2 separate regions of the Homo sapiens genome follow, and region 2 is linked to region 1. The links are contacts of gene promoters, found by promoter capture Hi-C in human tissues and cell types (Jung and others, 2019). All regions are on one chromosome and are shown on one strand. The core of a region is centred on a gene start or on the middle of the fragment in contact, and the rest is flanking DNA. Distances in the headings are between cores, read along the strand shown.

Region 1 (5,079 bases), core at 21-2,520:
TAGCAGAAAGCGTTAGTTCTGATCGAATAGCAATTGCAGAGAGTTTAAAATGCTGGAAACACCTGGAGAAAACATGCTAAATTTAAATAAAAGTTTTCATTCTTACATATAAAAGGATTCATTCTTTAATCGTTTAGAGATTAACCAAATTCTGTTATGAAAGAGAAGCAGGACATTTTAAAGAACTTAGGGCTTTATCATCATCTAGAGCATTTTCAGGATGGATGTCACTTGCAAAAACAAATGCTGTAATCACTTCTTTGAAGTTATTCAGTCCCTAGTTCATGAAATAAAAACTAGAAGATGTATAGCTAGTTAGCTAGCTACCATGGCTATAACTATGACAGATCCAAGTGGGAAAATCACTGGCAAAAATGACCACTGACTTCTGACTTAGTGCCTGATCTGAATCCACCCATTTACTCTTCAGTGGCTGTGAAGTACCATCCCACACCAAAAGAAATGTTGAAATTACTCAGTAGGTATTCCTTAGATACTGCAATGGGATTTTAAAAAAAATCCCAAACTGAACAAATAAAGCAAAAAATAAATACCTTGGGCAATAGCTTCACGCTGCTTCAAACCCCTGCCGGTGCACTTGAGCTACCTTCAAAACACCGACTTCCTACACTGTCTTAAGATGTAAATTTCAAACCCGGACGCAGAACTCCTAAAAAAAAGTAAAGAGTAACAAAAATTAAGCAGATAGAAAACTACTTCTTGAACATACAAGAATTGTCTACAAGAAAGGCGGTAATAATAACTCCTAATAATAATAACTCCTTTCACTGTTTCCAGTTGATTTGAGTAGGAGACGGCAGTTTTGAAGTAAAACTGGAAACCTGATCCCCACCCCTTCACTTCTCGAGCCGGGCCTCGTCCCTTAATTCTAGAAATAGCGATCGCGAAAGCTAAGTGCCGAGAAGTGCGAGAGAGTGCGAGGGCGTTTTTGGATAGCAGAAATGTTAGCTCAAAATCGACAACTTACAGTTATTCCTAAAAATGTTTAAATGGCATTCATGTAAAAGACACGGATTCACTTACTCCGATGACAGTTTTCCTCCCCTAGGCGAAGCACGCAGTGCGCCGGAACGGATTATTTTTAGGGTGGTGGGAGACCAGCTGCTGCCTCCTATCGAGTTTCTAAATTGCACAGACTGCTCTGGGCCGGGGCAGACACCGCGGCTGAGAAGCAGGAAACTGGGCAGAAGCCCCGCGCGCCGCGCCTGGGGCCGGAGACCTTCCCCATCCCTGCTCTGCTCAGCTTTGACTTGGGGCGGGCGCGACGCCGCGATTTTACAAACCCAAGTAATAGGCGTCCCCTTAAACTTCATTAGACACTGAAACTTGGAATATGATTCCATGATTCTCCGGAGTCGGGTTTTCAAACGTCAAAACACTCAAGGTATTCTTGTTTCTTTGTTTTGTTTTTCCATGCTCTGTAAGCACCCCTTTATTAGCCACGTAAGGAAGCGGATTTGGGGATTTCGCTGTTTCCCCCTGAACGGATCCGGGAAATGAAGGGCTCATTCTAGGTAGAGGCACCCACTGCTGGGTTATGAGTGCACGAATGTCTCACAGGAGCAAGGCTGGCTCAAGTCTAATTTTCCGCTTTTCCCCGGCGACCTAGAAAACTTGGTTTCTCTGGTGGACCAGCCGCCGCGCTATCGAAGGGCGACCCTTGCCCACCGTCCCCTAAAGTGAGACGCTGATTCCCATGGACTGCGTAAACAGTCACCCTCTTCTCCTGTTTCCAACCAGAGACATAATTAACTCTCGAGATAACGTGTTTATATTAAGATCACCCCACAACCACTCCCCCGCGAAACACAAGCCGTGAATTTTGTCCCCGACAACCCTCTTTAATTAACACCGGATTTTCTCAAGAGCCAGTTTTGAGTCAGCTTGAGATAAGCATTGTTTTCAGGAACTGTCGTATTTTAATAAAGGATGGTCAGCCGGGCGGACTTCTGCCCCTGAGGCTCCGCATGCCGTCCTCAAGGGGCGCCGCTGCAGGACTGCGGTCTGCTGGCGCTGGTCCCCAGATCTGAACCCTAAACACCGGTGGCCTCGTGGCCTGTGCGATGCAGGCCGACTCCAGCCCTGCCAGTCCCAGGGGATTTCTCCGCCGGCGCCCCACTCTTGGGAAGGTCGCTGCGCTTCCGGGTGAGTGCCTGACCTGCGTCAGCGGCTGGGACTTGAACCCGCGGCCGCTAGGAATCTGCGAGGCCATATGGGGCCGAAACCTGGGAGGGTCCGAAGACTCCGTTCCTGTGGCCTTTGAACGCTTGACAACTTTACCCTGGAGCTGTCTGCAGCGGCGCAGGGAAATAAGAGAGCGTTTCAACAGTGAGGATCCTGGTACTATGGATGCAGCCCAGGGTGGCCGGGTGAGCAAGCTGGACGCGAGGCCAGAGGCTCTCCAGGGCATCTATGGAGAGAGAACTGGAAATAGGGGGTGCCAATAATCCCAAGATGAAAACTCTTGAGTGTGACTACACAAAATGAAGTTTACTTGAGGATTATAAAAGAATATTACAATTCATTAAGGTCATTTACAATGTTTAAAAATCATGCTTATTGTAGAAACTTTGGAAGATGTGAAAGTGTACAGAGGAGATCAAGGAGCCCCCCGTAGATGCACCTGTGCACACACACCCATAAAACTACTGAAAACATTTTTTTTTATGTTTTAACAAACACAGGCGGTATGGTGCATTGATTAAGAGTGTGGACTAGGAAGGCAGCCTGCTCGATATCACATCCTGCTAGTTAGTTCAGAGACTGAACAAGTCACATAAACCCTCTGTGTATCAGCTTCCTCCTCTGTTTAATGGGACAATAAAGATAAATAATTTAAATAAATATAGAATAATTTTTAAAATAATTTAAATGGCTATATACTATTCCATTGAAAGGCTATACCATAAGATTCATTTTCCCGTTGTTTGACATGTATTTGCCCAATTTTACTAATATCTGTGATCATATGATGACCTTTTTTCATAAACTTTTTTTCTTTCTAACAAGTAATGTTTTAAGATAAATTATGTGAAAAATAATTACGGGATCAAAAGTGGTAGATATTTTTAAGGCTGTCAACATAGAATGCAAAATCACCCTTCTATGAAGTTCGTATTAAGTCCCCCAAATTGTATGAGATGAGCTATTACACTTATACTCAAACCAGCATTGGATATTGCTATTTTTTATTTTAAAAAAATATTTTAACTTGACAGATAATATTCAATTCTGTTATTCACATTCAACATTTCCCCACTATTGATTAATCTTTGTATCCCCTCTTTTGTGGCAGTTTGTTCACATACTTGTGTACCTCATGGGTCTTAATGAAGTTTACCATTTGTATAAATGTTTCATAAGAGTATACTAATCAAATGTTTAATAAGAGGATACTAATCCTGCTTCATATATGACACATTTTTCCCAATTTGTCATATTGTTAAAAAATGATAGTGCTGCTGCCTTTCAAAAAAGTAAGAAAAAAGTTTTCATGTGTTCTGTAAAGATTTATTAGAGCACACACTATGTGCTAGACATAGAAGCTAGTGATGAGTCAGATCTCTAGGGTCTATTGCACTTCATTGAACTTTCTCCTAAGGGAAATTTTACGTAGGCAAATTTGCTGCTTGTTGCCTTTGCAATGTATTAGAACACTTTAGTTAATAAATATTTACCTTCATTTATATTTGTTTAAAGGCTTTAGTAAAAATTTGATTTTGGAATTTATTTTGGCATACACTATGGGATGAAAATCTGCATTTATACTTTATTTGTTACACCAACACCATTTACTGAATAATCTTTTTCTTCTGCATTGTGGTGTAATACCACTTTTGTCATATACACATAATTAGTTCATAATAAGATCTGTTTCCGGGCTACCTATTCTGTTCAATTGATCTGTTTCAATTTTTTATTATATTGCTATGATTAGACTGATTTGATTATCAGAGATTAAATTATATTGTAACCCTGACAGTGCCAGTCCCCTTTTCACTCTTTTCAAAATTTTCAAAGCTCCTCTCTTTTGGGGATTTTATTGGAATTTCATTAAAACTAGGAAGTAATTTATAAAGAACATATTTTTAGTGCTTTGTCTCTTCACCCAGAAATGTAGTTTCCCATTTATTTGTCTTCCTTTTATCCCAGTATTAAATTTATACAGGTCTGTGCATATTTTGTAAAGATTGATCATACAAATTTCATATTTTTGTTTTAATATTTTGTACTGCTATTAAGGATGTACTATTTATTTTGTCCAAAAAAAGTATATTTATCTTATATCCAGACACTTTATTAAGACTTCTCAGTAATCCCAGAGCTATTTCACCCTGTTACCTTGACTTTCCAGAAATACGATTTCATCTGCAAATAGTGGTACCCTTCCATTTTAAAATACTTACAGCTTGTTTGCATTTTATCTCTAATCTTCATTAAATACATTCCAGAAGTGTTAAATAATACAAGAAGATAAACCATTGTTTCTTTCAGAAATATATACAATATATTTTTAAATCAACATTGTAAGTATAATTTTCATGAAATAAAAAGTATCCATGATACATGTAAAATCCAAAGTCTTTTGAAATAACCATGATCCCAAAAAGATACAAAGTATTTCTATCTCCCAAGGAAGTTATCTTGTGCCTTTAACTAGTCAGTCTAACTGTCTCTCACTTAGGGTAACAAGTGACCTGAAGTCTATCACTGGAGATTAGTTCACAAATGTCATATAAAAGGAGTCATACAGTACATACTCCCTTGTGTCTGGCTTCTTTAGGTAAGCATAATATTTTTGAGATTCATCCATGTTGTTGTATATATGAATAGTTTATTCCTTTTATTGCTGAGTAGAATTTCACTGTATGAATATGCAGTTTGTTTATTCGTTCACCTATCTGTATACGTTTGGGTTATTTCCAGTTTTGGGCAGTGATGAATGAAGTTTCGGTGAACCGTTTTGTAAACATAGGTGTTTTGTTTTTTTTTTCCTCTTGGGTAAATATTAAGCAGTAGATTTGCTGAGTCATATGGTAACTATACATTTAACTTTAC
Region 2 (5,470 bases), core at 120-2,619, 50 kb after region 1:
CACTGTTAGACATTCTACCTCCTTTCAGCCATATTTTTTTTCTGAAATTTTGTGATTTTCAATATTGCTATAATAATAGTGAAGCTCACATTTTCATAGCTTTTCTTCTGCACTGTTGCTCCCTCTAGTGCTGAGTTGAGAGACTGGATATTCGTAAGACAATGTAAAAATTTTCCTAATTTAACTAATAGAAAAGTTAACTGTGGAAAAAAAATATGTTATTAACACATTGAAAGTATTTCTACATGCCAGGGCTAGGGTACCATTCGTTACCATATCTCCAGCAGCCAGTGCAGCATTGACTCCTAACAAATATGCTTTGAACCAAACTGCTGAGAGAATACATAGGACGGAAAAAAAATTAAGACTCTATCTCTATCTTAACTTTTTTAATTCAAGATGTGCCTTTTATAGTGACACCTAAAGTTTTAGAAAGATCTTATCATAGAACAGCATTATTTAGCTAGCTATGAAAAATGAAATAATGCCAGGCACAGTGGCTCACACCTGTAATCCTAGCACTTTGGGAGACCGAGGCGGGCAGAACACAAAGTCAGGAGCTCAAGACCAGCCTGCCCAACATGGTGAAACCCTGTCTCTACTAAAAATACAAAAATTAGCCGGGCGTGGTGGCATGCGCCTGTAATCCCAGCTACTCAGGAGGCTGAGGCAGGAGAACTGCTTGAACCTGGGAGGCGGAGGTTGCAGTGAGCTGAGATCGCGCCACTGTACTCCAGCCTGGGTGACAGAGTGAGACTCCATCTCAAAAGAAAAAGAAAAATGAAATAAGTAATTCTTCAGAATATTTGTCATAAGAATAAGGTATGTGATTCAAATATATGTAGAAAGAAGCAGCTTAGCAGTTTCTAACTTAGCGGGAATTCTGACATTTGGATGTTGTGCACACAGACTTTTGAGGAATTCTTCTGCATACCACAAGCTAGAGCTACTAAACTTCTGTGAATCCCACAGTCTGTTGTTGGGGATAGCTGCTGGCAAAGCTTACTTCACTCAATGCGATCTACCCTATCAGAGTTATCTTCAACTCTTGTCTCAATAGTCAGCCATTTGCTTCCAGTATTGTCTTTACTTTTCACCTCTCCTGCTTAATGCTCCCAAATCCAAACAGCTCCATTTTACAGTTGAGCATACTTTATTCACTTTACTCTTTAACCTGCAGGTTGTTGGCTAGGATCCTCTCTACAATACTCACTTCAGATTTGGAGCAGGATTCTCCATTTAAAGCAACAGGGGCAGGAAGACATCCACGTTTTGCATGACAGGTCATATACTATTCAATATGTTATAAGATACCTATATACATCTAACAGGCATTCTATTGATTTTTATAATACAGTCTACAGAAAGTAAATTTAACAAAATTGCCTTCGCTGGTGAGAAAACATAGATTCCCCAGTGACTTTCAACTATGCCCTCAAGGGCCATGTCAAAATCCCTGAAAGTGGATGGTCATAAAATTTTTGTGTTAATCCATGGGTTTTCAATAGTTGAGAAGTAGGGGTCTAATTTAGAGGGGACTGTCTAAAGAGGTATGAGGGTTTAAGTCTATGACCTTATTAAACTCTAAGACTGATTGCTCACAATTACACAATCCAGCTACCAAAAAGTAATTTCAGAATAACTCAATATCTTTACTTTTATTTCACAAACACTGTGAAGTTTATACATAGACCCCTCTTCTTTTCCATCTTTCTTTCCTCCATTCCACAGTCTTTCATATTATTTGTCCTGCGCCTGTCACTTTTTTCCTTATTCTGCAAAGCTCAGAAGAACCCAGATGGCAAAAAGCAGAACTATTCACAGAAGGTGAAGGAAAGAAGACTTGGCAGATTGGTAGACAGAGTTAGAATCTCTTAGGTCAGCAAAAGTTAAAAAAAAAAAAAAAAAAGAAGGTTAAGAACACACACACGTATTTGCACATATGTTAAAATGTTTTGACCCATCACATAAATGTGTGTGAATTGGGGGTGAGGACAAAAAAAAGATGGAAAGACACATTTCTGTCTCTTACACGACGGAGGAAACAAAATACCTCTGGTCATTTCTATTCTGATTATTCACTGCATGTTTAAATAAGGTTTAAAGAGACTCTCAATGCCTCTCTAAATTATGGAAGCAAGTAGCTGATTCTTAGCTTTCTTGTAAATTTCACAAAGACTCCTTTGAGGGAAAGCCACAGTCTCCTAGAAGCTGTTAACTTGCTTTAAATCAATTGCATTAAACCAATTGCATGAGCAATTGGTTTAGAGTTAGGAAATTTTATTATCGCTTTAACCACAAGAGTATGCAAAAAGATAAGACAAGATTCTAGTGTAATAAAGATTCCTACCTAGCCGGCTAGTAATCTATATAGAAGAATTAGATAAGATTATTTCCAGTGTTAAATAATGCAAAATTTCAAAAATATTGCTGAAGCACATTTGGGAATCCCATACTTACCTGTGCCTCACTGTTGTTTAGACAGTTAACACTTCATCAAATGTGCTTCCTGGATTGCAAGTCCAACTATCATATTAGTTGATGCTGGATAATTTTGGTTTACTAATGCACCATTTTATGCTAGCATAAGGAGCCCTACATTTCTTAGGATGCAAGCAACTGGTTTGGAAAGGATAATTTTCCTATTTGTAAGAATATAGTAATAAAACACAGTGAATGTTTGTCTTAGAGAATTTGTCTTTTCCAATGCACAGGACAAAGAATCTTTCCCACTGTTATCTTTGAGATCCTTCTTCAGAATGTGGTTTCTACCTAGAATTCTGCTGCTACTTTCCTGTGGCTTCTGGTTCTTGAAATTGCTTGCCATATAACCAAGAGAAGGAAAGGGTATCAGTTAGGATTCGGTTCAGCTTCATAGAACAGAGACCCTACTATGGAGGCTTAAATGTGCAGGTTTATGCTCTTAAGTTTAATGAAGATTAGAGAACGCAGCTGGGGCCTGATACAGTGGCTTCCTAGAGTCGTAGGGGCCCACAGAGATCTCTGAGCTCTCCCATCCACAGTGCTTACAAATGCATTGCATCTGCATCTTAAGCAGCAGGAAGGAGGAAGTAGCAGAGAGGCCAAAGGGCACCCTCCAGCTGTCTTTTATGAAAATTTCTCAGAAGTTACACACTTCCACTTCCACTTCATTGATGGTGCTGAATAAGATCAAGGCATAAGGAAAGAGAAAGATATAGGGGCAGACAAACAACAGTCTCTGTAGCAGAACATGACGATGACACAGCATATCATCTTTTCTGATTTTAAAGCAATCAACTTAGTATTTAAATTCAATCACTCAAGATTTTCCTTTGTATCTTTACTTTTCCTCCCTTTTCTTAAAGTAAACTTAAATTTCCAGAGAACTTACATATTATGCTGCAATCAGAAGAAGGGTCTCTGCCTTAGCTATAGTGTTGCTGATCACAGCAAGACTTTTTATTGCCATCATGAGGCCGGTATTACTGCTGAGTCTATGCTTTCTCTGTGGTCCTTGGTCGTGAAGTTCATACACTCCAAATCCTACTCATTCCAACCTCAGGTCTCTTTAGGGCCTTCAATCTTCTGCCGTTTGTAAGGTTGGAGATTCTGCCCTTGCCCATGGTTAGGATAGGAGAGGCTATGCTGCAGAGAAAAGAAAAGAAAAGAAAAGAAAAGAAAGAGAAGAGAAAGGGAGGGAGGGAGGGGAGGGGAGGGGAGGGAAGGGAAAGGAAGGGAAGGGAAGGGAAGGGAAGGGAAGGGAGACTATCCCCAAATCTCAGTGATTGAACACACAAAAGTTTATTTCTAACTCACACTGCATGTCTGTCGAGGTTTCTGGAAGCCTCTGTATAGTCACTCAGAAGCCTAGTCACTGTGCATAGTCACTCAGTTGGTTTGTAGAACCTTCCTCAGCAAGGCCTCTGCTGTAGTGGGGTCTTTGAGTGACTATGCAGTCACTCAGAGGCCATGCTGAGGAAGATTCTGCCAACCAACTTGTAGTCATCTTATCTAGACCATGTGGTCTTCTCTGTCACTATGGTAGGGGAAGAGAGACTGGAGAATCACCTTGGGTTTTTGCTATCAGCTCCCTAATTGATACAGCATCACTTCCTGCCAGGGATTGAATGTTTGTGTCCCCCAACATTCATATGTTGGAACCCTCTCCCCTAAAGTGATAATATTTAGAAGTGAGGACTATGGAGGCTAATTATATCTAGATGAGGCCATGAGGCTGGGGTCCTCATGATGGGATTGGTGTCTTTATAGGAAGAGACCAGAGCCAACTTCCTCTCTGCCTCTGCCATGTGAGGATACAGCAGAATGGTGGCCATCTGCAAACCAGAAAGAGGGCTCTCACCAGACACCAAATATGCTTGCACCTTGATCTTGGACCTTCCAGCCTGAGAACTGTGAGAAATAAATGCTTGTTGTTCAAGCCACCAATATACAGTATTCTATTATAGCAGCCAAACTGACTAAGACACTTCCAATCTCATTTTATTGATCAAATTAAGATATGGTCCACCTAATTGCAAGAGTAGAGGAAAATGTTTCTTTCAATGCCTGTGAAGAAAGAAGAAAGGAGTAATGGATAGAATTGATAATGTCTATCTATCTCTCAAGCTGACTATGACTCTGTAAGTCCACCCTCAGGCCCCTCAGTCTAGTCAACTCACTCAATCACTGCTGATCTACCTGTAAGGCACAGTGACATGGAACTTCTCTGTGAAGTTTGTGGTCTCCTAGGCCACTTTCCAGAGTCCAGAAAATGGTTAACATTTGCTCTTTAATACTTTCAAATGTATCTGGGATTTCAATTCTTTCTTTCCAGGAGTGGGTAGGAAAGGATGTTTCTTAGAAACCAGCTTGTTCTAACCTCTCAATACATCACCTTTATTTTCTTCTTTCATTTGGTCAAACTCATCTCTCTCTTTTCCTGCGGGTAATATAACTTATTCTTTGGTGTCATGTCGTATATACAATAATCTTCTTCAAGTCACAATGGCTCAGTCATGTCAGAATTCACTTACCTTTTTTCTCTCAATAGAGCCTTGCTCTCACAAATGAAAGCTATGTTTTCGAGATTATTTGTTTCTGCTATAGATTTATAAGTCTCATTTAGAATTTTAATTAGCTTATTTGCTGTACACTGTCCTATCTACCCAACCCTCGAGGGTGGTGCATATAGAAAGCTGTTTTTAGCACTTGGAGGATAACAATAAATGCAAAGATAGGGGGAGGGTGCAAATAATTTAAAAATTTTAAGTCTATTATACCAATATATCTACAAAGTTAGGAAAACTACTATTATATCAGGTATAATATCTGGAAAACTTTAAGCACAAGTACACTCATTTCATTTACACTGTGATTCTTTGTGATTCTTCATCCTTTAAATTATGTGCATGATTAGGGAACCATGCACTTCCTAATCAGCTTTGATTATCTCATTAGATTTTTTTATTATTTACTCTTTAAAGAGAGA

What was found. Contacts are between HindIII fragments. The study calls those that stand out against the background at their distance.
Region 2: a contact is called between a fragment that was not itself captured here and the fragment with the promoter of ABCC9 in region 1, in 4 of the 25 tissues and cell types used here (heart left ventricle, mesendoderm cells, neural progenitor cells and 1 more).

The regions. Positions count from the first base shown.
Region 1 is chr12:21,940,156-21,945,234 of GRCh38, forward strand. It overlaps ABCC9 (ATP binding cassette subfamily C member 9), which reads right to left and starts at 1,271. Exons shown (of 40, transcript NM_020297.4): 1 at 1,045-1,271; 2 at 555-670. RefSeq lists an enhancer at 704-1,681. The HindIII fragment of the contact is 18,026 bases long and covers 1-5,079 here.
Region 2 is chr12:21,989,883-21,995,352 of GRCh38, forward strand. No RefSeq gene overlaps it. Among named protein-coding and RNA genes, the nearest start is that of ABCC9, 51 kb to the left of the region's middle. The HindIII fragment of the contact is 9,375 bases long and covers 1-5,470 here.